7 separate regions of the Homo sapiens genome follow, and all the other regions are linked to region 1. The links are contacts of gene promoters, found by promoter capture Hi-C in blood cells and fetal thymus (Javierre and others, 2016). All regions are on one chromosome and are shown on one strand. Each heading gives the region's core, a stretch centred on a gene start or on the middle of the fragment in contact. The rest is flanking DNA. Distances are from core to core; before and after follow the strand shown. Region 1 holds the start of CA1 (carbonic anhydrase 1). Region 2 overlaps ATP6V0D2 (ATPase H+ transporting V0 subunit d2). Region 3 has its middle 5.5 kb from the start of ATP6V0D2. Region 4 holds the start of PSKH2 (protein serine kinase H2). Region 5 has its middle 30 kb from the start of PSKH2. Region 6 has its middle 51 kb from the start of PSKH2. Region 7 holds the start of LOC107986954 (a long non-coding RNA gene).

Region 1 (4,384 bases), core at 587-3,086:
CAGAGATCATGCCACTACACTCCAGCCTGGGTGACAGAGTGAGATTCTGTCTCAAAAAAACAAAAAAGTTATAAAAGAGGTAACTTTAAAAATTGGGTAAGGGGGCCGGGCACGGTGCCTCACACCTATAATCCCAGCACTTTGGGAGGCCGAGGTAGGCGGATCATCAGAGGTCAAGAGATTGAGACAATCCTGGCCAACATGGTGAAACCCTGTCTCTACTAAAAATACAAAAATTAGACGGGCGTGGTGGCACATGCCTGTAGTCCCAGGTACTCCGGAGACTGAGGCAAGAGAATTGCTTGAACCCAGGAGGCAGAGGTTACAGTGAGCTGAGATCACACCACTGCACTCCAGCCTGGTGACAGAGAAATTGTCTCAAAAATAAATAAATAAATAAATAAATAAATAAATAAATAAATAAATAAATAAAACTAGGTAAGGGTACACATGATATACTAGACTGCATGAAACAGTGTGAATTTGGAAAGCTCTGTTACCTCAAGGAGATGCCCAGCAGATTGACTTTCGGGTCGTGTAGAGGCACCCTGGGCATGTGTGGTACCTAATTAGGTCCCTGACCCTCTCTCAAATTCTTTAACTGACACTTCAACCCTGGCCTTGATTCTCTGATACAGTATCCTCAGCCCAATCAGATCATACATCTATCTATTCTCTTTATTTGCATAAGTGGATTTACAATACTGGGAGAAGAGAGAAATAACTATAAGAATGTTGAAGTTAGTCAAATCCACAATATTAACACATTTGTATTAACTTTAGAAATTTAATTATTTAATCCTTGAGATAACCTATGAAAGATTGTTTGTTAAGTTACTTGAAGCATTTAATATAACCTGATATATTAGAAAATCAGATATATGAACCATATAATTTCAATTTTAAAGTACAAGAGCATTTTCTTCAGTCTATACACAGTGTTTGAATGTTTAAGAGAACATAACTTACTACTGCATAAATTTGGTTTATTACTTTTACTGGAATTGCTTTAATTATTAGAGCCCCCTCCCTCCTTTTATAAACTTGCAAGATGTATAAAAGATACTAATGTGTCAGGCATTTGAAATGCTTGAGAGATTCAGGTAGACTAAATTTGTAATTGATATAATATATAATATTTAAAGGAACTTAATTAACCAAGTCTATCAATTGCATTATTTGTTTAGGGGAATTAACGTCAAATTGAACATTAGTCATGGAATAATTTTAAATGGTAATTTATATTGGCTGGGCACAGTGGCTCACGCCTCTAGTCCCAGCACTTTGGGAGGCTGAGGAGGGCAGATCACCTGAGGTCAGTAGTTCGAGACCAGCCTTGCAAACATGGTGAAATCCCCTCTACTAAAAATACAGTAATTAGCCAGGTGTGGTGGCATGTGCCTGTAATCCCAGCTACTCGGGAGGCTGAGGCAGGAGAATCACTTGAACCTGGGAGGCAGAGGTTGCAGTTAGCAGAGATGGTGCCACTGCACTCCAGCCTAGGCTGCCAAGTGAGACTCTGTCTCAAAAAAAAAAAAGGTAATTTATATTATCCTTTTCAGATTTACAGATTTACAGAGATCTGCTTGATAAATATAAAAGGTTTAGAAAAACTATAAAGGTTTTTTAAGCTTTGCAGCTTTCATTCATTGAATAGTAATTAAGATGTAGGTAGGACTGTATTTTACAAGATTTAAAGATTCTTTTGGCAGTCGGATAAAACACTTCAATGCTCAGCTAGATGAAAGGCAGAAGTCTTTGTTACTTACAGCTCTGAATGAGAGAAGGCTGCCACAGAGGACCACGCAGGGGGTTGCACCTGAGGACTGGGTACCACAGGCTGGAGGGGGAATGGGCAGCTTATGTACAGCAAAAAGGGTGGGGTTAGCTAGGTTGAATAATTTTGAATAATTTGCATAATTTTGGCGGGCTTTGGGGCATGGGCGCTGTCCTTAATTGTCTGATGTCTGGCCCTGTGGTGATTAGAGTGGGTACATAGTGGCCCCAGAGTGTGAGAACCTGATAAGGGAAGTGGTTGGGGTGTGGATTTAATCAGCTGCTCAAGAGAGGAAACTGACCAGCCTCTAGCCAAGGCCTCCATACTAGGTCAAGACAGCACAATAATCAATAAAAATACCATATATGAAATATATTTAGTCACTGATTCCTTTATATCTTGATGTCGATTTTGAACTCAATTATTTGGGGTGTTTGAGTGGCCTGAATAGTAGAGGAGACTTCTACAGAATAGGGCCTAAGTTGCACTAAACAGCATAGAAAACATTTTATTATGACAATAACAAGGAAGAAACCAAGTAGAAATGTGACAAGTCCCTGAAGGCTGACTCGTAACCAGGCTCCCATTTGTTTGGCGTTGGCCAGGAGAATACATCAGTCATGGCAAGGGCCTTTAGTCATATTTTGACTGGATTTCAGAGTGTGTTAAATATGTAAGGCATGTTTTTTTAGGGTGATGGTTTTCTGATCCAGGCTTTCTGTTAGAATGACCTCTTGATTGGTGGTGTTAACCCACCTACAACAAGAAGCTCTAATAATGTTACAAACACCTCTTTGACTAGTTAATATATAATCAAGGACAAATTTACTGTCAAAAAACATTTTTGCCAAAGCTCCCTGGTTTAGCAGGACTAATATTTGCTGTAACTTAGAAATATGATATACTAGAGTTTTGGACATTTGTAGGGTAGCATCAATTATTTTTGACTGTTGGGCTAAAGCAATGGTCCTTGTGGCCATCGCAGCAAGTCCCAGAGCAGTGGTGAGTCCCAGTATTATAGGTACAAATGTGGCACATCAATGACATTTGGCTGGGTAGGGAAAGAATAATTAACATTTATATAAATAGGAATGCCAAGAGAGGCCAGAATGCATCTCGTGGCTTCCAGTTTCAGAGTAATGGAAGGGCAAAGGAGAGGGGATAAACACCCTTGTTGGTTGGGACACAATATAGTTTTGTGGCATTACCATTAGACTGGAAAATTGTACCTTGATTTAGGTAAAGGGAAATTACTAAAGAATGGGACTGGAGGAAGACAGTGGCTTTTGTTGGGCATATGGTGAGAATATGCAGTTGTTCATTGGGTAGCCCATCTGTGGTATGTATTGAGGAAATACGAGTGCAGTTGCCACTTGCCATGAGGGGGCACCCCAATACAGAAGAAAAGGCCGTTTGGAAGTGGTTTTCATTTCTCAGTATTTTTCATCTCTGGGGCAATTATCAGTTGGGTAAATGTGTGATGTGGGATATGTGGAAGCAGGGTGATGAGTTATGGATAGTCAGTGCAGAAGAGCCTACTTCAGTCAAATGTGTTTGTATTTTGGATGTCTGTATAAATATCAGAGAAGCTGGGGCAGTGGGTTTGAATTTTACTTACGTAGTCTTTTAGAGGGCAAGAGGAGAAGATGCTGTTAGGACGGAAAAGATAGGGGTGGGAGTAGGGATACTGACAATGAGAAAGGGAAGGCGAGGAGGATGGAAGGGAATAAATGGTTTGACAGTCGGAGACCAGCAGATGCTCCTTTTACTCCTAGGAGAGCACACAGGGTGGAATACTTCAGTCAGGTTACCCTTTAGGCAGGAGAAGTGGGTGGGATTAGCAGGAACCTGAATCTTAGAAGCATTAGGGAGGTATTGGACTTGGTCTCATAAGGGCTAAGCCAGGTATAGAGTGGAATTACAATCACAGAGAGCAGAACTTCGAGTTTTATAGGTGTCTGTAAAGTCTGGAAAGTTACTCCAGTGTTGTGGGTCTTGCTTTTTTAAAACAGAAGTCAGCAGTGTAACCAGCTACTGGAAAACCAAGAGCCTCTGGTCTCCTATGAATGGCAAGACATTCCATGTGCTAGTGTAGTTGGCACTGCCCATAGTTGGTTGGGAGGCAGGGGGCATGTCATCTTTAATGGCATGGTCTTGAGCTAGGGCAGTGTCGGACTAGGGTATCCTTCCCACATGGATACCCACTAGGGTTGATGTGGGCTGTATTTTTGTGACTCTGTGGTGTTATAATGGGGCTGAGTCATTTGTAGAATTTGAATACAATGTTGGGTCCTGGGAGCTTGATTCACAAATGTCTTTTAAGTCAAAGGCTTTGTGGGTGCACAGCTAGCAAAGATGCTGGCATCCAGAATACTCCTATAATTGGACCAAAGTGCCAGAATCTGAATGGTACAATCAAAGTCTCAATTAAAGGCAGCTAAATGTCCCTACAAAGGACAGGATCTTGTTCCTTTTTATGGTGGCGTAGTATTCCATGGTGTATATGTACCACATTTTCTTTATCCAGTCTATCATTGATGGGCATTTGGGTTGATTCCACATCTTTGTTATTGTGAATAGTGCTGCAATTAACATACATAAGCATGT
Region 2 (4,384 bases), core at 982-3,481, 760 kb after region 1:
GAGATAAATAACAGTGTGGCCAGCGGTTCTTTGTCATATAGTGTCCAATGTCCCTTCTGTCCCCTTAGATCAGTGATCACCATCCTTTAATCATACACCTATCATTAACACACAAGCCCAAAATAATATAACATATTTAATTATATATTATATGCATTTTTCTAATATATTATGTCAATTTTATATTTATTTATTTATTTTGTGTGGGAGGTGGGGGGAACGAAGTCTCACTCTGTCTCCAGGCTGGAGTTCAGTGGTGCAATCTCGGCTCACTGCAACCTCTGCCTCCTGATTTCAAGCGATTCTCCTGCCTCAGCCTCCCCAGTAGCTGGGCCTACAGGCGCACACCAACACGCTCAGCTAATTTTTGTATTTTTTAGTAGAGACAGGGTTTCACCATGTTGGCCAGGATGGTCTCGATCTCTTGACCTCAAGATCTGCCCGCCTTAGCCTCCCAAAATGCTGGGATTACAGATGTGAGCCACTACATCCAGCCATTTTTATTTATTTATTTTTGAGATGGAGTTTCACTTTGTTGCCCAGGCTGGAGTGCAGTGATGCGATCTCAGCTCACTGCAACTTCTGCCTCCCGGGTTCAAGTGATTCTCTTGCCTCAGCCTCCCGAGTAGCTGGGATTACAGGCACCTGTCACCACGCCCAGCTAATTCTTGTATTTTTAGTACAGATGGGGTTTTACCATGTTGGCCAGGCTGGTCTCGAACTCCTGACCTCCGGTGATTTGCCCACCTCAGCCTCCCAAAGTGCTGGGATTACAGCTGGGAGCCACTGCACCCAGCCTTATGTCCATTTAAAAACATATGCAAAAATTGAAATTTAAAAAAGAAAGAAATTAAAACCTATCTTAGTGAATAATTTTGAACATTCTATAAGACAGCAACCTTTCCACTGTTATACATGTCCCCCTAGGTCTACAGGATGCTTTCCAAGGGTTATGGAGACAGGAGTGATTATAAGATGACCACTTTCCAGATCCTGAGTGCCTATATGTATATATACTAAAACTACCTAAGAGTACTTGAAGTCAGAACACTGTGCTGGGTTCCCCTTATCACCTCCTTATCACAACTGTTCTTTTTCCACCATCCTTTTACACCATACTATGATGTATAGCCCTGAGGTATAAAAAGCTTTAGGGCACTAAACAAACCACAGGACCATTTGAAGTGTTAGTGTGTTGTTTTTTTAATTGATAAATAACATTTTCCATATTTATGGGGTCCATGCAATTTTTTTTTTACAGTTATAGAATGTGTAATGATCAGGTCAGGGTATCTGAGGAGTCTATGACTTTGAGTATTTGTCATTCTGTGTTGGGAACCATCAGTCTATTTTGTAATATGTCATACATTGTTGTTAACTATAGTCACTCTGCTCTTATGTCTAACTATAGAACTTATACCTTTTATCTAACTGTATATTTATACCTCTTAATCTACTTCTCCTCCTCTCCCCCTCCCTACCACCCACCATTCCTAGCCTCTATTATCTGTCATTCTACTCATTACCTTTATGAGATCAACTTTTTTTAGTTCCCACATATGAGTGAGTGCATATGATATTTGGCTTTCTGTGCCTGGTTTATTTTACTTAACATATTGACCTGCAATTCCATCCATGTTGCTGCAAATGACATATTATTCTTTTTATGGCAGAATAGTATTCTATTGTGTATCTGTACCATACTTTCTTTACCCATTCATCTGTTGATGGATGCTTAGGTTAATTCCATATCTTTGTTATCGTGAATAGTGCTGCAATAAACATGTGAGTGCAGGTATCCCTTTGACATACTGATTTATTTTCTTTAGTATAGATACCCAGTAGTGGCATTGCTGGATTGTATGGTGTTTCTGTTTTTAGTTTTTTGAGGTATCTTCCTACTGTTTTCCACAGTACTTGTACCAATTGAAATTTCTACCAATGGTGTATAAGAATCTCCTTTTTTCCACATCCTCTCTCCAGCATATTTTATTGTTTGTCTTTTTAATACTGTCCATTCTAAATGGGGTAAGATGCTATCTTATTGTGGTTGAAGTATTGGCGTCTTGGAGGACACTAATGACTAAAAGATAGAGAGAAGAAGACTGATTGGCTAAGAAACTTGAGACCCAGGGAATGACCTGGTTTTGAGTTTCTCGGATTTTCCTTCGGGTTGCCTCATACACTCCTAACTGGATGCTAGAAAATCTTACAGCCCAGAAAGCCAATGGGCACATACAAAAATGCCCCCAAGGAAAGGCTGTTCTCTCTAGCCAAAGGACCAGGAAAGGGGCAGCTTCACAAACAGAAAGTCTTTTTTTTTTTTTTTTTTTTTTTTTGAGATGGAGTCTCGCTCTGTCACCAGGCTGGAGTGCAGTGGCACCATCTCGGCTCACTGCAACCTCCGCCTCCTGGGTTCAAGTTATTCTCCTGCCTCAGCCTCCCGAGTAGCTAGGACTACAGGCGCCCACCACCACACCCTGCTAATTTTTGTATTTTTAGTAGAGACGAGGTTTCACCATATTGGCCAAGCTGGTCTTGAACTCCTGACCTTGTGATACACCCACCTCAGCCTCCCAAAGTGCTGGGATTACAGGCGTGATTCACCGCGCCTGGCCACAAGCAGAAAATCTTCAGATAATAATGGCTCTACTCTAACCAAGTGCCATGGGAAAAACTGCAACCCCACCCCTGTCAGCAAATGCTCGATGGGGACCCAGATGTCTACCCTTACCCGGCTGTAAGTGGGGTCAGAGAGGGCTGAGCGGGAAGCTGGGCCTTTGACCACCTCCCAGCAGTAATGAGCCCTCTTTTTAGCCTTGGTGTCAATAGAGGCCACACACAGAGTAGTAATAAATCCCAGAAGGAGAGGAGAAAAAAAGAAAGGTTGAAAAAGTATTCAAAGAAATAATGGCTGAAAATTCCCCCCATTTGGCAAAAGACACACACCGACTGATTCAAGAAGCTAAGTGAAACCCCAAACAGGAAAAATCCAATGAAATCCAGGCCAAGACATGTCATAATCAAACTTCTGAAAGAAAAAAAGACAAAACAAATCTTGAAAGCTATGGGAAATGACACCTTACCAATAAGAGAGAAGCAATTTGAACCATAGCAGATTTCTCATTAGGCACCTCATGGAGCCAGAAGCAAGCGGTGTAGTATTTTTCAAGCACTAAAGACAAGAAAAAAAAATAGCATTTTGTATTCAGTGAAAATCCTTCAGGAATGAAGGGGAAATCAAGGCATTCTAAGATGAAGGAAAGCTAGGAGATTTTGTCACCAGCAGACCTACTCTAAAAGAATGGCTAAACGAAGCTTTTGAAACACAAAGGAAATGATAAAAAGAGTAATCTTGAAACAATGGGAAAAAAGAAAGGACAACAGAAAGGAGAAAAATATGGGTAAATACAATATACCCTTTCTCCTCTTGAGTTTTCTTAATTGTATTTCACAGTTGAAGCAAAAATCATTACTCTGTCTGATGTGGTTCTCGATATACATAGAGGAAATATAAGTTATAAACAGGGAAGGAAAAGACACTTAAAAAGAAGTAAAGTTTTTAAAACTGCACTAAAATTAGGACAGCTACTCTGAAAAATAGTCTTGCAGTTTCTTAAAAAACTAAACATATTCTTACTATGCCACTCAGCAACTGCACTTCAGGGCATTTATCCAAGAATAATAAAACTTATTTTAATATAAAAATCAGCACACAGATGTTCTTAGCAGTTGTTATTCATAATAGCCAAAAACTAGAAAAAAACCACAAATGTCCATCAATAGGTGAATGGTTAAATACACTGTGGTATATCAATACCATGGAATACTACTCACCAATAAAAAGGAACAAACTGTTTACATGCAACAGCTTGAATGTATTACATGTATCTCAAGAACACTGAGCAGAGTTAAAATAGCCAGTCTCAAAATGTCACATATTATCTGCTGCCAGTTATATATTATTCAGAAAATGGCAAAATTATAGAGTGGGAGAACTGATTCGCATTTTCTAGACACTGGGGGTGGTGGGTGGGAAAGGGTGGGTGTGACAATGAAGAGGTAATACCCTGGAGAGCTTCTTCACTGAACTGTGTTTTTCTTAGAAGGTGTTTCTCTTTTTCTATCTCATGCCAGAGTGCTTAGTGAATGACAGTCATTTCTCAGCTATTGCTAATGACACTGAAGTACTAAAATTTTTATTCAGAGAAGAGCAATTCCTCTAACTTACCAAATTATGGCTCTATAATATTTGACCTCTTAGCAACTGTTATAGCAGCAGAATGTGGTAGTTATCATACAGAAAATATATTATAGTTTTCTTTGAGATCCTTAAATAAGCTAGGGAGCAGGAGGAGAAAGAATAGCTCTAAGATCAAATGGA
Region 3 (4,384 bases), core at 1,013-3,512, 720 kb after region 1:
CAAAAATACAAAAATTAGCTGGGTGTAGTGGCGGGCACCTGTAATCCTAGCTACTCAGGAGGCTGAGGCAGGAGAATCACTTGAACCCGGGAGGTGGAGGTTGCAATGAGCCAAGGTTGCACCACTGTAATCCAGCCTGGGCAACAGAGCAAGACTCTGTATGAAAAAAGAAAGAAAGAAAGAAAGAAAGACAGGAAGGAAGGAAGGAAGGAAGGAAGGAAGGAAGGAAGGAAGGAAGAAAGAAAGAAAGAAAGAAAGAAAGAAAGAAAGAAAGAAAGAAAGAAAGAAAGAGACAGAGAGAGAAAGAAAGAAAGAAAGAAAGAAAGAAAGAAAGAAAGAAAGAAAGAAAGGGACAGAGAGAGAGAAAGAGAGAAAGAAAGAAAGAAGGAAGGAAGGAAGGAAGGAAGGAAGGAAGGAAGGAAGGAAGGAAAGAAGGAAGGAAGGAAAGAATGAAAGAAAGAAAGAGAAAGAGAGAGAGAGAAAGGAAGGAAAGAAGGAAAGAAGGAAAGAAAGAGAAAGAGAGAGAGAGAAAGGAAGGAAGGAAGGAAGGAAAGAAGGAAAGAAGGAAGGAAGGAAGGAAAAGGGAGGGAGGGAAGGAAGGAAGGAAGGAAACACAAAAAAATCCTGCCAGAGTTATATCAAAAGAACATGTTAATCATGTTTAAATATGTACCTTAATAATATCTTTATTTGTTAGAAACCCTGGCCTTTATCCTGCCTGTTCTTTTTTTTTTTTTTTTTTTTTGGAGACAAAGTCTTGCTCTGTCGCCCAGGCTGGAGTGCAGTGGTGTGATCTCAGCTCACTGCAAACTCTGCCTCCTGGTTTCAAGCAATTCTCTTGCCTCAGCCTCAGCTGGGACCACAGGCACCCGCCACCACACCCGGCTAATTTTTGTATTTTTAGTAGAGACAGGGTTTCACCATCTAGGCCAGGCTGGTCTTGAACTCCTGACCTCATGATCTATCTGCCTTGGCCTCCCAAAGTGCTGGGATTACAGGCATGAGCCACTGCCCCTGGCCTATCCTGCCTTTTCTATACAAACTATATACTAGGGTAACCAATAGTTGATGTAGTTTCTTTTTTAGAGTATTTCAGCTAATGAATGAAGGAGTAATAAACTAAAAATATAATTATTTTGTTATTCCTAATGAAATAGTGGATCTAGGTGGTGATCATAAATGGCTGCTTTGAAAAAAAAAAGTGAGAGACAAATGTTACATGCATTCTGATGCAAGTATTCAGTACTGTTGTGAGTGTTCTTGCAAAAGAAAAATCTAACATAAGTGTGATCTAGCCTCCAGATCTAACTACCAATTTATAGGAATTACAGGGGACACCACAACATGTTAAATGACGCCACACGATGCAATCAGCAAATTCCAAATGTGCAAAACTCTACAGGGTACATGACCCACCAGTTTCTTAAAAAGAAGGGTTAGAGGAGGGAAGGCATATCTAAAAGAAAATATAAAACACGTAAACCAATTGTAGTGTCTCCTATTCAAATAAACCGACGGCAAAAAAATAAAATAAAAATTATAAAACAATTGGGAAAATTTGAACATTGACTAGATTTTGGGTTTTTGTTGTTGTTTGTTTGTTTGTTTGAAACAGAGTCTTACCCTGTCTCCCAGGCTGGAGTGCAGTGGAGTGATCTCGGCTCACTGTAAACTCCGCCTCCTGGGTTCAAGCTATTCTCCTGCCTCAGCCTTAGCTGGGACAACAGGCACCCACCACCATGCCCGGCTAATTTTTTTATTTTTAGTAAAGATGGGGTTTTGCCATGTTGGCCAGGTTAGTCTCAAACTCCTGACCTCAGGTAATCCACCTGCCTTGGCCTTCCAAAGTGTTGGGATTACAGGCGTGAGCCACCGTGTCCAGCCTAGATTTTGTTGATATTAAGGAATAACTTTAAGTATGCTAATAGAATTGTGATTATATTGCAAAAGGATCTTTATCTTTTAGAGATATTGAAATGTTTATGGATAAAATAATACATCTTGGTTTTACTTGAAAATAATTCAGGGTGGGAAGAAAGCAAGCAAGGTTATATATAGATCAGGGGTTGGCAAATTATACCCTAGTAGTCAAATCTGACCCACGAACTGTTTTTGTAAATAAAGCTTTACTGGAACACAGTCACATTCGTTCATTTATGTGTGATATGCGGCTGCTTCTCCACTACGATAGCAAAGTTGAGTCATTTCAATAGAGTTGAAATGGCCGACAATTCCTAAAATATTTACTATTTGACCTATATAAAAAATACTTTACTGATCCTTTGTATAACTGACACAAGGTTGGCCATGAGTCCATAATTATTGAAGGTAGGTGATGGATACGTGGGGGTTAATTATAGTAGTGTTTCTTTCCTGTATGTTTAAAATTTCCCATCATAAAAAGCTTAAAAGTTTGGTTTGGTTTTGGTTTGTTTGTTTGTTTTGGGATTTTTTTTGGTTTTTGTTTCTGGTTTTTTGAGACAGGTTCTCACTCTGTTGCCCAGGCTGGATTGCAGTGGCGTGATCAAGGCTCACTGAAGCCTCAACCTCTGGGGGCTCAATTGATTCTTCCACCTCAGCCTCCCAAGTAGCTGAGACTACAGGCACGTGCCCACCAAGCCAGGTCAATTTTTGTTTGTTTGTATTTTTTGTAAGGACGTGATTTTTTCATGTTGCCCAGGCTGGTCTTGGACTCCTAGGCTCAAGTGATCCACCTGCCTCCGCCTCGCAAAGTGCTGGGATCACAGGCATGAGCCACTGTACCCAACCTAAAAAGTTTAAAAGTTTTGTTTTGTTTTTTTAAAGTGCTGATAGTCCTAGGAGAGAGCTTTGACCTGGCCTTTGATTGGCTATTAACGATGGCATCATAGTTCTGCTCTGAGGGGCAATGTGTACCACACACTGCCTCTAAAGATGCTTTCAGGGGCTGAGGGTGAATATGACTGTCCACCCTGACAATTATTTTAGAGTTGGCAAAGCCTTGGCTGCCTTAGCTGCATCGAAGACATCAGAGGACTGTGTGCTGTGTGGGAAGCAGCCTTCTTCTCCTTTGCTTTTGCATTGCGCTTTGAAGAACCTACCACATCTAGAAAGAAACTTTTTATGCTCAAAATAACAGACACTTTACCTCTTCAAGGAATATCTCCTTTCCTTGCAGAATAAATTGATCCTCTAATGCTATGAAGATAATGACTCTTGGGAGCCCCTGAAGTTGACAAAAAGTCACAATAATTCCTATACATCCTATACAGGTATACACGCATCCACAATTATATATGTATGTGTGTTAGGCTACAAAACCACAAAATAACCTCACTCTTCAGATACACTTGCCAAGTATAGTGTTTCCTAGAGAAACAGGGAATTAAAGATTCTGTAAAAGTAATTTTAAGTCATTTTAAAACTCTGACTCTAGTTAATTCACGAAATGAGTATTGAATTATCTGCCCCCACAAGGCATGCTACTAAGCACTGAAGAGATGGAAAAATGAGCCAGGACTGTTGGTGTGCATCTGTAGTATCAGCTGCTCAGGAGCCTGAGGTGGGAAGATGGCTTGAACCCAAGAGTTCAAGACTGCAGTGAGCCGTGATCACACCACTGCACTCCAGCCTGGGTGACAGTGAGTCCCTGTCTCTTTAAAAAAAAAAGAAAAGAAAAATGAAAAATGAATAAGGCACTGTTCCTGGATTTAAGAAATTCAATCTAAAAGTGATTACAGGCCAGGCTCAGTGACTCACGCCTGTAATCCCAGCACTTTGGGAAGCCGGGGTGGGCAGATCACTTGAGGCCAGGAGTTTGAGACTAGCCTGGCCAACATGGTGAAACCCCGTCTCTACTAAAAATACAAAAATTAGCTGGGCATGGTGGCACGTGCCTATAATCCCAGCTACTCAGGAGGCTGAGGCAGGAGAACCGCTTGAACCCGGGAGTGAGAGGTTGCAGTGAGCTGAGATCGCGCCACTGCACTCCAGCCTAGGGGACAGAGTGAGACTCCTTCTTAAATAAATAAATAAATAAATAAATAAATAAATAAATAAATGTGATTACAGTGGTTTTTGTACAATAGTCCCTCCTAATCCACCCCAACGGATGCCAAACTCTTTATATACTATGTTTTTTTCCTGTACATACATACCAGTGTAATTTAAAGTTTATCTATAAATTAGATGCACTACTCTTGCACGTTGGGTCCATTATTAAGTAAAATAAATGTTATTTGAACACAAAACAACTGCCTTGACAGTTGGTTTGATAATTGAGATGGCTACTAAGTGACTCACAAGCAGGGGGTGCCTACAGCCTGGAGGACAAAGGGAGGATTCATGTTCTGGCTAGGGCATAGGGGGCTGGCGAGAGAAAGATTTCATCACACTATTCAGAATG
Region 4 (4,384 bases), core at 1,354-3,853, 690 kb after region 1:
TCATATTTAAGACATGTTGAGAAAATGCTAGACTTAAAATCACGATTGTATAGCTGGAAAGAATATTAAAGTTGGGTATTTAACCCAACTTCTTGTTTTACTGATGAGGAAATTTGAAGACCACATTAGCCAATTGGTTGTTTACGTTGTAGAGTCAGGATTAGAACGCAGGTCTCCTTTTTTTTTTTTTTTTTGAGATGGAGTTTTGCTCTGTCACCCAGGCTGGAGTACAGTGGCATGATCTTGGCTGACTGCAACCTCTGCCTCCCGGGTTCAAGAGATTCTCCTGCCTCAGCCTCCTGAGTAGCTGAGATTACAGGTGCACACCACCATGCCTGGCTAATTTTTGTATTTTTTTTAGTAGAGACGGGATTTCACCATGTTTGCCAGGCTGGTCTTGAACTCCTGACCTGAAGTGATCTGCCCACCTCAGCCTCCCAAAGTGTTGGGATTACAGGTATGAGCCACTGTGCCTGGACTTCATTTTAATAAAACCTCTCCTAGCTAAGGATGACAGAGAATGGAATGTACTCAGGGAGTACCCAGGGAGAAGGCACGTTTTTATATCACATATTCAATACCAAAGATTCAAATGCAAATACTAAACTATGCTTTAAATAGTCTTACTTCTTTTATTGAGCTTATTTTTCCTGTAACTTTTTTTTTTGCCTTCTTGTTTGTTCTTTATATTCCTGTGTGTATTGAATAAAAATGACATTTGGCTGTACCAGATTACAGAAAACAGCTTTGTTCTCCACAGAGCATTTAATTTTCTGGCCAATTACCTTATCAAAACAGATAGCAATTTAGTAATCTTAAATAGATTCTTTCCCCTTTTCCCTTTCCAACTCTGCTTTTCTATTCACATGCATTCTCAGTGTGATTTTGAAGATAATCACAGGCATTTCAAATTCTATTGCTTTGCAGACCAACCAAGTTTTATATTACCTCTATTGTGGATGAAAGCACTTTGTAAATGCTAATTTATCGCTATGCCCTCAAAGCTGCCATCAAACTCATTTGTTCACAGAATTAATCATATCAAACAAACTACCATTTCTGAGAACTACACGCTTTTGCTCAAATAAAAGAAGCTTTATTCAATACTGTTAAGGGGGCTTCATATTTCCAATATTTGAAAAAATGCTAGTAATTTGGCATTGGAGGAAACAGTACACTTGAAGCCAAGATTTAGAGTGGTGGAAATAAATGCCTCAGATTGTTATTCAATTTGTCCCATAACAAATTCTTATAGCTACAGCCTTGCTCGTGAGTCCTCAACTGCCATGAATGGTGACCAACTTTATGATTTGCGTGGCTATACCTTGTAAAGTGCCTAGCACAGAGGAGTAGCAATAAACACTGAACAAAAGAATCATTCACTGAATACATATTATTCCTGAATCATCATATATATTTTGCAAACATTAAGTAAAGATCACATCAAGCTGGGAAGAATGCCTTTATAAGGTCTTTTCATTTCCTTCACTTTTACCCCTCCACTCTCTTAAAGAGTAGCCTCAGAGTCAGTTTAGTAGGTTGGACAATTTTGTATCATCCCAGAGACTACGTAAATTGGAAATATTACTTTAACCTCAGCTGCTATGATACAAACTGGGAATTTTTGAACATAGATTAAAGATTTGAAACAAGGAAATAATAATAGTGTTACAATCTGCTTGAGAGAAACAATTATAATAAACTCCCAACAAGAAAGTAAATATACTCATATCTAAATTCTATCATCTCTTTTCTGCAAAAGTTATAGATGGAATCACAACGGAGAAGGAAGACGACTGTGTTCTAGTCCCAATTCTACCACTAACTTGGACAAGTCACTTAACCTTTGGGGACACAACTACTCATTGGTTAAAGATGAGCCTTGAGTTAAAATCTCTGAAGCCCTTATAATGTTGAGATCCTCTACTTCTGTGATGCCTTTACACTCTATGGGGCTGGGTCTACCCCTGGATTGGGAATTAGTAGGGTGGATGAAAACTAGACCAGACTAGCATCATCTCTCTGACTACAAATGACCAGAGATGCCATTTAACCAATTCAGTCTTGACAAGACCCTGTACCTACTCAGATTCAGTTCAGTCATATTAGCCAGCCTTGTTCTTCTGTAAGCTTAGCAGCCACCGAACTAATCCTCCAGGAGTCACTGTACTAAAAGTTCTCAAGGAGGCCAGGAAATGGCTCTGCATAGATTCTGGACAGAGCACTGTGACGAAGTGAGCATGCAATTCTAGGACCAGCAGTGCCTTGGGAAGCCAGCTGAGCCACCCATTATTGTGTCTCCCCAAACACACAGAGGAGAAGGGGATTCCGTGATTTACTTGGTCAAAATGTCCAACATGTCCAACATGGTACACTCAGGAGGCCAACCAACCTGAAATCTTCTACATAGGAAGGGCTTATTTGTACTTCATGAAAACAATAATCAGCATTGCACTAATGTCTGCATGAGGACTGGTACCATGCACTGTGCAGCATAATTTACATGTATTACTTTAATTATGCTCACAACAGTCTTATGAGATAGATACTCCCATTTTACAGAGCTAGAAACGAAGGAAGGAAAAAAGCTAAGGAATGTTCTACATGGTACATGATAGAAGATATGGAACTGGACCTCAAGTCTGGCTGACTCAAAGGCGCATCTCTAGTTCACTCGCTGTAATCCCAATTTTTAGAATTAGTGGAAGATCCTTCACACACCAGGTCTGGCAGGACCCAGCCCCAGGATATTAGAGGCAAAGCCGTCTTCCACCGCAGATGCTGGAGGTTGGCAGACAGTCCTCTCACACCCCCACCCCCCACCTCCGAAGATAGGAATTCCTTCCCTTGTTTGCTGCTGCTCCTGCTCTCTTTTTTCCCATCCTCTGAACTCCCTGTTCAGAGATGTCAAAGAGAAATTGTACTGGGCACTTATGGAACACAGCAAGGAAGGCTTATCCCAGACTATTGCAATAGGAGTCGAGGCTTCTGCAACAGGGGAAAGAAAATGGACGCCTTCGAAACAAAAGGCAAGAAAGTTTTTAAGCGCTGGGGTGAGCCAGTGGAAAAGAATGGGAGAAGCTTAGGGAGAGGTGGTCAATGAGATCTGTGTTTGCTACCTGGCCCTTATGGAAGTTAGGCTCCTGCCCTCCCACAGAGACTGGGAGACAGTGGCCCTAACTCTCTTGATGACTACATTTCAAAGGGATGGCTGCCAGGTGCCTGAAAAAGACACTCTTGGGTTGTAGAAGATTTACATCTCAAAAGGGCAGAGAAAGGGGGAGATCAGTGCCTATCATCCGAAAGAACCCTGTCCAAAATTGAGTCAAGCTGAAGGGAACCTCGAGGCGGTCTTGGCCAGGGGTTTTTCTTTGTCAGCCCAGTCCCAGGCCAGTTCCTCACGTGGCGCTTTACCTGGCAAGGACCCGGGGGTCGAACTTGGCTCGGAAGCGAGCCACCTGTATCCTCTGCGCCGCCTGGGCCGCCGCCTCGGGCCCAGGCCCCGCGCCTCCGACGCCGGCTTGGTTTTGACCTTCGTGCTTGGCCCAAGCCAGCGCTGGTGGCCCCGGGACCACCTTCCTGCTGGCGCCGCACCCCATACCCGCAACACGCCCGCCGCTCGCGGGACCTGGGGACTCGGGAAGCAGCCAGCCCCGTTCCTCCGCCCTTTATCAAAGAGCAGCTGCGAGGGGCGGGACCCTCGGAAAGAAACCCCACTGGGGGGTCGTGGTCAGGGAGACAGCCCCCAGGATACCCGCTAACGACCGAGACGCCTGGATCATCGCTGGTCACCGTCTGTGTGTGTAATCTGACGTGATGAAAGCAAAGTCAACCAACAGGCAGAACCTGCGCCTAATTGTCTGGGCTTCACTTTCTGCATCTCTAACCTGACAAAGTGAACATATAAAATTATACGATTGTATAAAGGATATCGTCCCTCTAAAGAACTTTTCGCTGAGCTCATATTCGGATGACATGAACATTAAACATACATATATATATATATTTAAAATTCTAAGAGCTTATAATATTTAAAGTATAACTTCACTGCCTTCTATTGCATTAAACGGATGACAAAGGCCTGTGTCTGGCACTCATGACCTTCATCTTCCGGGTAATCCATCTAAGAGAGAAAAACTGAGGGCCACGATAGATGTCTAGAACCCAGACGAACACCCTAAGCAAATACAGTGAGAAAACCTGTATATACATATACAGTGTATATACAAAACCCGTATATACAAATATAGTGAGAAAACCTGTATATAGATATAAATATATATAAATAAATATAAATATTATGTATGGTAACTTTACATTTTCTATATATTTCATTCTTGTATTATTTATACATATTATACATGTATGTGAATGTGTGTATATA
Region 5 (4,384 bases), core at 603-3,102, 660 kb after region 1:
GTGAAACCCCAACTCTACAAAAATAAAATAAAATAAAATAAAATAAAATAAAATAAAAAGTAGCTGGGCGTGGTGGCACACGCCTCTACTCCCAGCTTCTAGGGAGGCTGAGGTGGGAGAATCACATGAGCCTGCGGAATCGAGGCTTCAGTGAGCCATGGGCGAATCACTGTGCTCCAACCTGGGCAACAGAGCAAGACCCTGTCTCAATATACATAACTACAGCATTCTTAAGGATTGAAGGTGATCTTAGCAGAACAAAACTTTGTGAAAGAAAGTTTTAAAATAGCAGTGCTTTGTATACAGAGAAGGCTGAAAAAAAATGGATGTGCATTGACTAACAATGTGATGCTCCGACCACAGAACTACTTAAAGACTATTAGGAAGACTGGGCTTCCATCCTGGCCTCTGACTATCTTTACAACTTCTACAAGTATATCCCTTCCTTCTGCAACTAGAGGTGGGCTTTCCTATCTTTAAAAAGGTAATCTGTTTCTTTCCCTAAGATGTAAACTATTAACTTATCAGACACTGCAAAAAAAAAGATTCCATTTTCCCGTTTTTCTCTTCTGATAAATTATAGGCTGGGATATAAACAACAATTATATTCTTAATCTTCTTGTGAAAAAAATCTGCTAGGAATAACAAAGATATTCTGTGGCTTTTGTTGGCCTTTCCTTTGCTTTTGACTCTGTGGACAAAATTCAGTTGAGGTTGCATTCCTGAGTCCAAAGCAAACATCAGGATATTCAATAATATCAATAACTTTAATCCTTCTGAGTGTGCAGATTATTAGAAATGTCATTTGATAGCTTTGATTAATGGTCTCCAAACTTTCTTATTTAGTCTTTATCAGTAAATATATTTACTTATTTTTGTTTACTATTAAATTATCTACATATGCCATTATATGAACATACACTTCAGGAAAATTGTGCAAAACTAGAAATTTCAAAAAGACAAGCTAAAAATAAAACAATTCTTTAAAAGTAATTTTAACTTGTCTTTATTAATGGTAAAATATAATTATTTATTAACATAGGATTTATTTTACTTTCATAAAAATTATATTTAATAAGACAAATATGATGAATTATGCTTCATTATTGCTGAAAAGCTTGTTTACTACTTTGCAATGTAGTGGTTAGATGTCTGTTTCTCAACGAGATTTACTTCTTTCCTTGTTTTGAAAAGCTATCAGAATTTTTTTTAAAAAGTCTGCATTTTCAAAATTACAACACCCATGTTTCAATCCATCTACCAATTTTGTAAAGGCTTTTGATAAAATTGTGCTCAGAGATTTTTTTCTTCCCTGAAGTCTGCATAGGTATGAATGTTAAGAGCCCAGGCCTGGACTGATTTCGCTTCTTTTCTCTTATTTTGTATCCAGCAGCCACAGGCTATTCTTCACAAAGAGGTCCTATTTTCAGAATCACCCATACTGCAATATAGAAAACAGTTGTTTCAGTAATTCTTATCTTTCATGTACTATAGTTCCACTGGGGCAATGCACTTCTTTCCACTAAGAAGCCTACTTTCTGTGCTGGCTTTTGTACACAGAGCACTTTGAAGTTGGCATTTGTGCACAGCCACATTTCCAAACTGCCTCCTTCTTCCCTGGTTTTCCTGCCAGAGAAAAATAAGCCTGGTCCCCTCAGCTGTTAGTGTCTCCCGCTTTGTCTGCGAGTGCCAATGGAGACTGGCCATCTCTTGGAAATATGCCAGTCCCAGTCCCGGGTCCTCTGCCTTGGTTGGTGCCTGGATTAGTGAAACCCTCAAACCTAAGCTGTGATTCACAAATAACTCTGGGGTGGCTTCTCCACTCTGGAGGGGGGCTTTATTTCAGATGAACTCTGGCAGAGGAAGAAGAGTCCCTGGGTTGCTTTAAGGACATTGGAGTGTGTGCTAAGAAGTGGTCACGTTCTCGATTCCTTTCCCTTTTGCTTTCTTTTTCCCTTCTAAGCACAAGTCTGTCCTAAAGGCCATGAAAAGCTCTCTCCCGCATGATCCACCCCCTGCTCACTATTCTGCTTGTCTCTAACTCACACCTGTGGGTAGGGGAAAATGGCAGTGACTGTGGCCAGGAATGTCCTTAGCGCTGAAGCAATGCTAATGCAAGGCGCCCAGCGCTGAGCTTCGCTAATCGCTTCAAAACTGAAGCCAGCTCTGGCACAGAGTGAAACAGCATGCTTCTGAAGTTGCTCTAAACTGTGGCCAGAGCCGCCACACCAAGTTGGTACCAGGAGACCTGCCTGGGGCATGAATCTAACTTTAGACATTTTGTGAGAACAAGGAGATCTCCGCCTCTAGATCCAAAAGAGAACTACCCAGCTGAACCCAGTCGGTTAATCCCCTGGACGGCTCCGTAAACACGCAGCAGCCTCTGCATCCTCCTGCTACAGACTCACTGCCCCACTTTTTAAATGCCGGAGGTGTTGATGTTGAAGGGGGCTAGGAGGTGTGGGTGATCAAGGACTCAATATAAAAGTCCAAGATTTTCCTACTCTCCCCAAACCTTTGCAGCATCATGGGAAGCAAATGTAATTGGCTTCTCTCTGGCTTTGCTGTGGCATAAAGTATCCAAGGAAAAGCTTCTTGCTCTTACTTTTCTGCTCTTCTGCTGAGACAAGCATTTGCCTTCACCAGTGGGAGGAGATTCCATCTGTGCCTAGATGATTTATTATCAAGAAAATGTGTTAATAATTGATAAGGAATCCTATAAAAATAAAATCATAAGTAGCCAAAATATAGATGAAGAGGCTCTCTTATCACAAACTAGGTATGCTTTCAATAGATAAATGACCCTCCTATAGGATATCTGCTGGGAAGAAGAACTAGAGATCTATTTTTAAATCCAAGTCATCATTTTCATCAGAGGTTCCCCAACTTTTAACTAGCATAAAGATATTAATTCTACATAACACACTAATTCATTCAATTTCCCTAGAAACAGTTCTTTATGCCAGTTTATTTTAGAAGAAGGTACACCAAGAGGGGACACTAACAATAAAAATCATGTGACACTTTATGAAATTTATTTTATGTATCAGAAGTAAGTATTTTGCCACAGTCACTTTAAGGTTTTTCAAATATTAAAATAATCCATGCCATTTACTGTGGAGTTTTGGTGGCCTTTGTTGCCCCTTCTTTTGGGCACTGCAGCAGGCTCCAATTTCTGAAGAAAATCCTGGTGGCATCCAAGGATATGCCCTCATCCCACCTCCATGTGGAGGGGAGGCAGCTTCTGTCCAGCGTGTGTGTGGCACAGGTTGTCAGCCCAGCCCACTGGCTGCCAGCTCACCCACATGGCTGTGCCCTGAGCTGGCACTGCAGGCAGCCACCTTGCAGGTAATGTCACGTGTAGGACCTGGAATCACTGCTGTGCAGTGCAAACCAAAATCAGGGTGAGAAACAATATTTCTGGAATATTATTTGAAAAGCAAGTAAGCTATTCCTTCATTTGAATCTTCTAAAAATCCCTCTCTCCAGTAATCCAGACAAACATGGAGCTCCATCCCTGGACCATGTTCTTTTGAGCTCCCTGGACTTGTTTTCATCAAATTACCCACTGGCCGACATTGAGGGACATTATGAACAAGAACCTGTGGAAACTGCTCACTGTGTTTACTACGAGGATGTTGCTGATTGCATTGCACTTGTTAATTACATTGTACATCCTCCCTGGGAGATCCCACAAGAAATTCTTTTCAGTCTGGGTCAGGAATGAATGTGCTTCCCTCAAGCAACTAATTAAAATTATTTGTTGTAATTTTATGACCACATTGAAGCATGTATCTGCTTTCTTCTTTGAAGGGATTACCAGAAAACGAAGTCAAATATAAAGTCGCCTTCTGTAATTTATGGGTTTAAATGTTTTATATTTTTGTTTCTAATTTTTATGTGAGAATATTATCTTAGTTTTTCCTATCCCTCCTACTTTCAGGGGTTTTTTTTCCTGCATTCCTTTTCCACTCAATTCAAGTGGCCTTTTATCTCATTTTTATCTATTTACGTAAGATACCTTAAAACCTTTAAAACAGGAAAATGAATAAATAAACAGACAGTAATATCTGGTACTTTCAATTCATTATTTCTCAGAGGCAAATAAGATTCTCTCTTTTCCTGAATTTATATACCAAGAAATAGAATGTAATTACATAATTTTATGGAATTGGAACAATTACATAGAATATTGTTCTGAACAAATCCACTAATTAATACTGAAAGCACCATTTCATAAAACATTGAAAGTAGGGCCATAAAGCCAAGGCCAGAGACAAGAGAAAGACAAAGAAAGTGGTTTAGGACACCAGGGCTCAGGGAAGATACCACATATTTTCTTCAAAGCTGCAAACCACAGATGATGATTTCCATGTGTAGTGGG
Region 6 (4,384 bases), core at 558-3,057, 640 kb after region 1:
CTTCTGTTTCTGGCCCGGCCTCTTTCTTTCCGTGGTGATAGCACTCACACAAACATGGTGAACATTCCTAAAACCCGTCGGACTTTCTGTAAGAAGTGTGGCAAACACCAACCCCACAAAGTGACAAAATACAAGAAGAGCAAGGATTCTCTGAATGCCCAGGGAAAGCAGCGTTATGACAGAAAGCAGAGTGGCTATGGTGGGCAGACTAAGCTGATTATCCCGAAAAAGGCCAAAACTACAAAGAAGATTGTGCTAAAGTTTGAGTGCTTTGAGCCCAACTGCACGTCTAAGGCTATTAACAGATGCGTTTTGAACTGGGAGTAGATAAGAAGAGAAAGGGCCAAGTGATCCAATTCTAAGTGTCATCTTTTCTTTTATTATGAAGACAATAAAATCTTGAGTTTATGTTCAAAAAAAATGAAAGGTAAAAAAGTAACCCTCAATTATAGTATCATAATATTTTATATATTATAGTACATTATCATTTTTTCATTTTCCCAAATTTGGACCATTTATAGTTCTGAATTTCACAAGCATAAACTTATGTCCCCAGGGAAGAAAATTACTACTGTCCTTACTTGATGAGAAGAGGAATTGGCTTCAATAAGTGTTATAGGGCTCTGGGCCAAGTCTTCAGAGGAGTCTAAAATGATTTACTAGCTCAGCAAAGAAGAGGAGGACATCTTGCCGACAACACTGCAGTTAGAATATGTTACCATAGTTTGTTCTCATTCGAAAAGAAGTACATGAGGAAAAAGAAATATTTCCTGGACCCTGGACTTGTATGTACTTCCCTTTCACAAGTATTTCCTTTGTAAGTTGTTATTCCCCCAGCGGCCCTCTGCCAAAAATGGCAGTCTTTTTGTGTGCCCTTGGACATGAGGCAGGTGGCACCAGGCCCACAGAACCCTGACAAGAGTGTGGAATGACAGGAATGGAAAGAAAACAAAAATGAGAAACAATATCTCCTAAGAAGATCTTTCAGAGTTTATCTTGTCAACCACCTGCAAGAGATGGAGAAGCAGAACAAAGCCCATTGATGTCTATGATTGCATTTTAACAAGAGAGTGTGGCAGACAATTTCATTCCCGATGCTCTGACATGTACTATTTTTCAGACTCAGCGATCAGCACCCATGTTCTCTGCCCGTTTTGTTAATGATTCAAAGTGTACGCTTATTTTTTTTACCATATGTGCTATCTATATACACACACTTAAATCCATAAAATCATAACAGCATTTTGATGTAATCATGCTGTCTCTCAATGGTTTCTAATTGGTAATTTGCCTCTAATTTTTATAGTTACTTGAGTGACATGAATCCTAGAATAGTCAGGAAGCCCATGGTCTTGCCATAATACCGTAATTACCATAAATAATACTTTGATGAATCACAGCTTCTTTATTCCTTCTTCTTTACACAACATTATTTCTAACTTAGTACTGATATCTTTATACTGCTTTTTTGTTTACCAGACTGATTCTCCTAGAAGCTTGTAAATTCCTTGAAGATAGGAATCATGTCCTATTTTTCTTTTTATCCCCAGAGCCTAGGATAGTACACAGCACAGGTTAAGTGCTTAATAAATATGGGTCAGGCTGGGCACAGTGGCCCACGCCTATAATCCCAGGACTTTGGAAGGCCGAGGTGAGTGGATCGTCTGAGCTTAGGAGTTCAAGACCAGCCTGGACAATATGGCAAAACCCCATCTCTACAAAAAATTTAAAAATTAGCTGGGCGTGGTGGCATAGGCCTGTAGTCCCAGTTACTTGCGGGATTGAGGCAGGATGATGGCTTGAGGTTGGGAGGTCAAGGCTGCAGTAAGCCACGTTCACGCCACTGCACTGCAGCCTGCGTGACAAAGGGAGACTCCATCTCTTAAAAAAATCAAATTACATTAAATTTAAAAAATAAAATTAAAAAAATAAAGTTAATATTGGTCAGGTTATCTAATGAATAAATAAATAATTGCTTGAGTGAATAAATGAAATAACAAGTCATGACAACTGGATTTATCAGTAGGTCTTTATCTGCCATAATAAGGACACAGAACCCACATTTTGCCACTATCAGAGGATCAGGGAATGAGGCAAAGGAGAAGTTTCTGGACACCAGAAAGCTTTCTCTGAGAGTGAAAGCTAAACAGCTGCTGGATGCTTCTCAGAACTGTGAATAAAGATATCAGCTTTCTAGGGCTGCATTTACTGTATACATAAGTTAACTTGAGTATTACACTACTGACAAAGTATATACTTGCCATCCTAAACATCAACAGGAACTAGAATAGGCAGTATTGTTAGAGCACATTAAGTTTTGTGTCTTCTGCCTCCCAAAGGTTAAATATCTGTACACTGGTGGCAATGAACTGGATATATACACCACAATCCCTCCAAGCTCCAATATTCTGTCACCACTAGGGTGCTAGGCACCACTAGAGAACTTGGGAGATGCAATTCTAAATTAATCTTCACATTAGCATGTCCATTCTATGCAATTCAGCATCTCTGCACGACAATTGGCAAGTTGCTTATTTTTCTAGTCTCAGTTTTCTGGTCTGAAAAATGGAGACTATAAAGTGAGTTTATAGTACTTGGTGAAGAACCAGACACACGTTAAATAAATGTTAACTGTTGAGTTATGTTTATATAGATGTATTGTTAATGTGTTTCAGGATTTTATGAGATTCCTAAAATCTTGATATGTCTTAATATATGTTGTCAGTAATAATTATGATTATTATGTTAAGTTTTTATATGCCACAAAAATTACCAAATTTCCTTGTCAATTGTGTCTGTCCTGAAACTTTTGCATTCCACAATTGTTTTGCTTTGATTCTTTGCAAAAAGCAGCTTATAATCAGCTACAGTCCAGGGCTTTCTTCTCTGGGAGAGTTCATGAAAAGGACTCTTAAATGCGTGTTTCTCATAACTGGAGATTGTGCCACTGGACTAGAGAAAAATGTCCAGGACTCTAATTAAAAGGTGGATGTGTCAATAACATTTACAAATCCAATATGAAGCAGAGCAGAAGTTGATTGCATGGACTGAACTAATGGAGGACAGAAGTACTTTTTTATGGCTTTTTTCTTTGAAACATTGCTGATTCTTTTGCTTTTCAGAGTCGACAGAACTTTTTTCTTTGAGCTATTTATAGCCTTTAGCAAATAAGTAGAGTATGCAGAATTTGAGACATATTTCTCTCTTTCTGTCTAATTTCTCCAGAATTCATAAACTATTTGTGAATATTCTTAATTCATGACAACGTGGTTGTTTGCATAAGTTCAATAAAAATTTGTTTTCTTTCATAATGGGATACAGTTGGAAGAACTGGTTATTTTCCCAGGGCTTTGACTAAAATGGCCTTGTGAGAGGTTTCAGAAAAGCCAGTTTAGAAGAGCCTATATGGACAGTGATTCTTGTTGCACTTCATGTGGGTAATCAGGCCCAGTATAGTGGGACTGATGATTATTTTGCAGGTAGGTTGGTCCTGCTGTGATTTGTCTTTGGTGAAAGTTGGGGACTGGAGAGAAAAAAAAGTGTGCTTCTGAAGAAAATCATGATATTAGATCAACCTTTGATTCCTGAGTGGTCACATGGTCACCCATTGCATGGAACTACCCACAATGCCCTTCCTTAGCATGAAGCAGCCAGAAAGATGAACGATCAGATTCCACACGAGTGAGGAACTGATAAATAGGGGAAACTGAAACTGGCCCAATTCTCCCATAGAAGTGACATTTACAGTTTATTTTGAATAAACATAGAAATTGATACTCCCAATCTTAAAACTTAAGAAAGTTACATTTATCTTATCTGAGTCCCTTTCTCAGGAAACAAACCATCAGTCCTCCCAGATAGTATCAAGAAACTGAAACTTACCAGATCACTGCATCTGAACAGTAAGATGCCAGATCTCTCACCTGTCATGATTGCCTATCTGACCATCTGCTTCCTGTTGGTTAATTAACTCCTCTTCCTTACTCAACCCCCCAATTCCTGTTTACACACATGTAGTTATGTTCCTTTCCTGCTATATAAACCCCCAATTTTAGTTGGTCAGGGAGATGGATTTGAGTCTGATCTCCCATCTCCTCTTCTGTAGCATTGGATTAAAGCCTTCTTTCCTGGCAATACTCATTGTCTCAGTAATTGGCTTTCACTGTGGCAAGCAACTTGACCTAGGACAAACCTGTGGTGTTTTGGTAACATAATCTTTGCAAAGGTGGTTTCATTCCCCCATACCTTGCTCTATGTACCTCTTCCATTTGCCTTTTCCTGAGTTGTATTCTTTATAACAAATAGGTAAAGATAGTGTTTCCCTGAGTTCTGTGAGCCATTCTAGCAAATGATCAAACCCAAGAAGGGGGTTATGAGACCCTCC
Region 7 (4,384 bases), core at 1,272-3,771, 600 kb after region 1:
AGACATACATTACATGGACATACATACATAAACCATGTAAAACCGTGTCAATGATATACTATTCAAATACGCACACACATACATATGTGTGTGTGTATATATATGTATGTATATATATATATATATGTATCCTCAGAGAGATACTGGATATTGAATTAAGGAACACAGCAAGTATAAGGTCTTGGAAAATAAAAAATATTATAGCAGAAAAATATTTCAACAAAAAGGCTCAAAGATAAAGAAACGTGATACAGAAGTCAAATATCTAATAATTGAAGTTCCATAGGGAAGAAAGAAGACAGATGAAAAGAAATGATCAAAAGAATAAATCACAAAACATCCTAGAATTTAAAGACTTGAAATCCAGATTAAAAGGCCCACTGAGTCCCCACTATAATGAACAACAACAACAAAATGATTTAAACAGGGATAATCATTATGAAATTTCAGAATATAGGAATAAAGAGAAGATTCCAAAATTTTGAGAGAGAACAAAAAGATCATTTATTAAGGATCAGGTATAAGAATAATATCATAGTCTTAAGGCAACACTAGAAACTAGAAACAAATAGGGGTACATTGTCAAATTTTTTATGAAAAAGATTTTCAATCTTGCATTCCATACCCAGCCAAGCTATTAATCAAGAGCAATGGTGGAATAAATACCTTTTTAGACATCCAAGTTCTTAGAAACTTCACCAAGGCATTTGAAGCTCCAAATCTGTAGTTTTCTTAGAAGTTTACTTGAGGGTATTCACTATCAAAATAAGGGAATAAACCCAGAAAAAGGAAGACACAAGTTCCAAAACGAAAACAAGGAGATTCAACATAGAAGAACATCAAACAGAATTCTCTTGATGACAGAAAAAGAAAAAGCCTCAGAATAACAGCTTCACAATAGGCCAAGAAAATAACCAGTACACAATTGAATAGAACGACTGAAAGAAATGTCCAGAACAAAAAAAATTAAAATAAAAAATGAGAGTTATAGATTTTCTGATGTGTTTGTCAAGAAATGTTCATTAAGAAACAGCTAGGGGACTTGATTATACAGAATAAGGTACATAGAAAACTAAGCAAATAAAAATAAAAGAACAATAAATAGCTCAAGGGTAAGATAAAAATTATGTAAGAATAGAAATATAGTCATAATACATACATGAATTATATTACGTGGTCATAATAATGTCATCCATTAATACTGCCTTAACCCAAAGTTAGAATACAGCTATTAAGGCCAGAGAATGACACAAGAGAGCAAACTCCTCATCTATGTAACAGGAAGTTAACAGATATTGCTGAGTCTCTCAATATCATGTTCCAGGAAAAAGAATGAACATTCGTTGGAGAAATGCCTGATTTCAGGTCTGGAATAAGAAATGCACAGGATGTGCCTGGGACATTTGTTATGCCTGAAAGCAGGGATGCTATCAAAGATTACTGAGAGTGGCCACAGGGGTTCAATCAATATGCTGTCCTCTCCACATTTATTTGTGTGTAAAACTTTTCATTATACAAAATTAAAAAGTAGGTTGGGGAGTAGGATTGGGGAAGTAAAGAGAACTTTTCTAGTCAATGAATTTCAGTACTGTTTGAATCTTTTACAATGAGAATGTAAATTTATTTATTTCTCATGTAATTTTTAATTTAAAATAAAAAAGAAACAATGGTATATGCATGTATAAGGCCAGGTTCTCCAGAGAAGCAGAAGCAACAGTATATGTAGAGATATATAGGAGATTTATTATGAGGGATTGACTTACACAAGCATGGGGCTGAGAAGTCCCACAATCTACTGCCTGCAAGCTGGAGGCCTAGGAAAGCTGGTGATATAGTTCCAGTTTAAGTGAAAGTCCTGAAAACCAGGAGTGCCTATGGTGCAAGTCCCAGTCAGAGTCTGAAGGCCTGAAAACAGGGGGCCAATGGTGTTACTCCTCGCCCAACTCTGAAATTCCAAGAACCAGTGTCTGAGGGCAGAAGATGGATGTCCAACTCAAAGAAAAAAGAGAATAAATCTGCCCTTATTCCATCATTTTTTTCTACTCAGGCCCTCAACAGATTGGATGATACTCACCCAGGCTGGTGAGGGTGGCTCTTCTTTACTCAGTCTACTGATTCAATTGCTCATCTTTTTGGGAAACACCCTCACAGACACACCCAGAAATACTGTTTTATCAGCTATCTGGGCATCCCTTAGCCCAGTCAAGCTGACACATAAAATTAACCATCACAAAGAATATTACTTAGAAATGTGGAGTTAAACACCATTAGAGAAAATTGATGGTTGAAGGTGTTGGCCAGTGGGAAGTAAAATAGGGAATGAAGAGAGGTGATCATCAATTGCTATTTCGTGATTTGTAGGCCTCTTCTTATTGCTTGGCATATGCATATTTTACTTCAACAAAAACAAACATGAGTCACATAGGCCTTCATTCAAAATGTGACTCAAGCATTTGTTAGCTAAGAGGCCTTGAGCAGTGGCTTAATCTCTCACAATTTCTTCATCTGTGAAATAAAGGCAATATATGTCCTTGTGGAGTCATGAGGTTTTAATGTAATACATTAAGCACCTAGTCTGGTGCATAATCAGTATATGGTAGATATTATTATTATATTATATTTAGAACCTTTGCAGAAGCTGAAATTCAAAAGCTAAAAGCTGAGAAAGATGGCCAAAACCTGCCAAACTACAGTGATATGGTTTGTATATTTGTCCCCTCCAAATCTCAGGTTGAAATGTAATCCCTAATGTTGGAGGTGGGGCACGGTGGGAGGTGTTTGGGTCGTGGAGGCAGATCCTTCACGAGTGGTTTGGTGTCCTTCCCATGATCATGAGTTATCACAAGAGCTGGTTGTTTAAAAGAGCCTGGCCCCTCCTCCTCTCTCTCTTGCTTCCTCTTTTGTCATGTGACAGGCCTGCTCCCTCTTCACTGTACACCATGAGTAAAAGCTCCCTGAGGCCTCATCAGAAGCCAGGCAGATATTGGTTCCATGTTTCCTGTACAGTCTGCAGAACAAAAAGTCTCTAGAGGTTTAAAGCAGGGAGACCCCCCAGTTCTCTTCATTTGTAGGGGTGAAGATATACATTTCGCTCAAAGGCTGAGGTATGGAAAGCATCCTAACGTGATCAGTTTTGGCTGCATTTAAAATTGAAAATATTAACCTGGAATTTATTCACAAGCATTTCATTACTGCGACCCAATGACCTGCTAAACACAGGGGCTGTTCCTCTTTTTTCTTTTTTTTTTTTTTTTTGAGATGGAGTCTCGCTCTGTCACCCAGGCTGGAGTACAGCCAGCTCACTACAGCCTCCATCTCCTGGGTTCAAGCAATTCTCCTGCCTCAGCCTCCCGAGTAGCTGGGATTACAGGCACACGCCGCCACGCACAGCTAATTTTCAAATTTTTAGTAGAGACATGACTTCACCATGTTGGCCAGGCTGGTTCCAAGCTCCTGACCTCAAATTATCCGCCCACCTCAGCCTCCCAAAGTGCTGGGATAACAGGTGTGAGCCACCGCACCTGGCCTGTTTCCTCTTTGAACAACTTACCTAGAATCCAGTGCTCCCCAGGTGACTTTTCATATGAGTGCACGAGAAAGGCAGAGTCTGCATTTCCCAAACTCATCTTCAGACATCACCACTTACAATTTCACACTGTCATGCTGCTACTGGAGCTGCTCTGTAGCTTTCACCTGCTCATTAATGTGCACTGCTGTACCAGTAGCTCCTTAAAAATGTACATCACACACACGTGGGGTCTCCCCTAGGTGACCTCATGGGCACCAGTTGCCTGTAAAATAAACATTGACATAATCAAACAGCAAGATACAAAGAAGACTGTGTGTGGCAACATGGTATTGGCTGCAGGTGAAAAATGAAAGATGAGGAGCCAAAATGTTAACAACCTCATCATTCTAAACAACCAGGCTATAGATGCTGTGGCTTTTTTGTCTCCTTCATTTGTTAACTGAGCTAAAATCAAATTTAAAGACACTGGTTTGTATGGAGTAACACTTAATTCAGTCTTACCCCTCCAAAAAACAAACCAGAGTGTCATAAGTGCAGAAAAAAAGAAACACAGGAAAAAAAAATGATGATATTGGTTTGTATTGACTAGGCTTTACTCATAGTACCTTAAAATTAATTATTAAATAATTATATGAAGAGGTGAAGAATTAGCAAACTGGGGCCAATTATGAGGTCAGGAGTTTGAAACCAGCCTGGCCAACATGGCAAAACCCCATCTCTACTAAAAATACAAATTTTAGCCAGGCGCGGTGGTGGGCGCCTGTAATCCCAGCTACTCGGGAGGCTGAGGCAGGAGAATCACTTGAACCTGGGAGGCAGAGATTGCAGCAAGCCAAGATTGCGCCATTGCACTCC

Evidence for each region. Contacts are between HindIII fragments. The CHiCAGO score rates a contact against its expected background, and 5 or more counts as called.
Region 2: a fragment that was not itself captured here is called in contact with the fragment with the promoter of CA1 in region 1 in 1 of 17 cell types (naive B cells); the score reaches 6.1 in naive B cells.
Region 3: a fragment that was not itself captured here is called in contact with the fragment with the promoter of CA1 in region 1 in 5 of 17 cell types (megakaryocytes, fetal thymus, total B cells and 2 more); the score reaches 6.6 in megakaryocytes.
Region 4: a contact is called between a fragment that was not itself captured here and the fragment with the promoter of CA1 in region 1, in 5 of 17 cell types (endothelial precursors, total B cells, naive CD8 T cells and 2 more). The highest score is 7.2, in endothelial precursors.
Region 5: a fragment that was not itself captured here is called in contact with the fragment with the promoter of CA1 in region 1 in 9 of 17 cell types (erythroblasts, megakaryocytes, naive CD8 T cells and 6 more); the score reaches 11.4 in erythroblasts.
Region 6: a fragment that was not itself captured here is called in contact with the fragment with the promoter of CA1 in region 1 in 7 of 17 cell types (erythroblasts, M2 macrophages, endothelial precursors and 4 more); the score reaches 7.5 in erythroblasts.
Region 7: a contact is called between a fragment that was not itself captured here and the fragment with the promoter of CA1 in region 1, in 5 of 17 cell types (naive B cells, M0 macrophages, erythroblasts and 2 more). The highest score is 7.6, in naive B cells.

The regions. Positions count from the first base shown.
Region 1 is chr8:85,376,277-85,380,660 of GRCh38, forward strand. It overlaps CA1 (carbonic anhydrase 1), which reads right to left and starts at 1,837. Exons shown (of 8, transcript NM_001128831.4): 1 at 1,770-1,837. RefSeq lists a promoter at 1,865-2,656. The HindIII fragment of the contact is 5,896 bases long and covers 1,630-4,384 here.
Region 2 is chr8:86,131,003-86,135,386 of GRCh38, forward strand. All of the region lies in intron 2 of ATP6V0D2 (ATPase H+ transporting V0 subunit d2), which reads left to right. Among named protein-coding and RNA genes, the nearest start is that of ATP6V0D2, 34 kb to the left of the region's middle. RefSeq lists an enhancer at 3,082-3,634. The HindIII fragment of the contact is 2,170 bases long and covers 1,147-3,316 here.
Region 3 is chr8:86,091,172-86,095,555 of GRCh38, forward strand. No RefSeq gene overlaps it. Among named protein-coding and RNA genes, the nearest start is that of ATP6V0D2, 5.5 kb to the right of the region's middle. The HindIII fragment of the contact is 280 bases long and covers 2,123-2,402 here.
Region 4 is chr8:86,066,024-86,070,407 of GRCh38, forward strand. It overlaps PSKH2 (protein serine kinase H2), which reads right to left and starts at 3,645. Exons shown (of 3, transcript NM_033126.3): 1 at 3,415-3,645. The coding sequence starts at 3,599. The HindIII fragment of the contact is 951 bases long and covers 2,129-3,079 here.
Region 5 is chr8:86,037,617-86,042,000 of GRCh38, forward strand. No RefSeq gene overlaps it. Among named protein-coding and RNA genes, the nearest start is that of PSKH2, 30 kb to the right of the region's middle. The HindIII fragment of the contact is 1,474 bases long and covers 1,116-2,589 here.
Region 6 is chr8:86,016,765-86,021,148 of GRCh38, forward strand. It overlaps the pseudogene RPL36AP31. Among named protein-coding and RNA genes, the nearest start is that of PSKH2, 51 kb to the right of the region's middle. The HindIII fragment of the contact is 627 bases long and covers 1,495-2,121 here.
Region 7 is chr8:85,977,381-85,981,764 of GRCh38, forward strand. It overlaps LOC107986954 (a long non-coding RNA gene), which reads right to left and starts at 1,226. Exons shown (of 4, transcript XR_001745984.1): 1 at 1,160-1,226; 2 at 667-757. The HindIII fragment of the contact is 5,360 bases long and covers 1-4,384 here.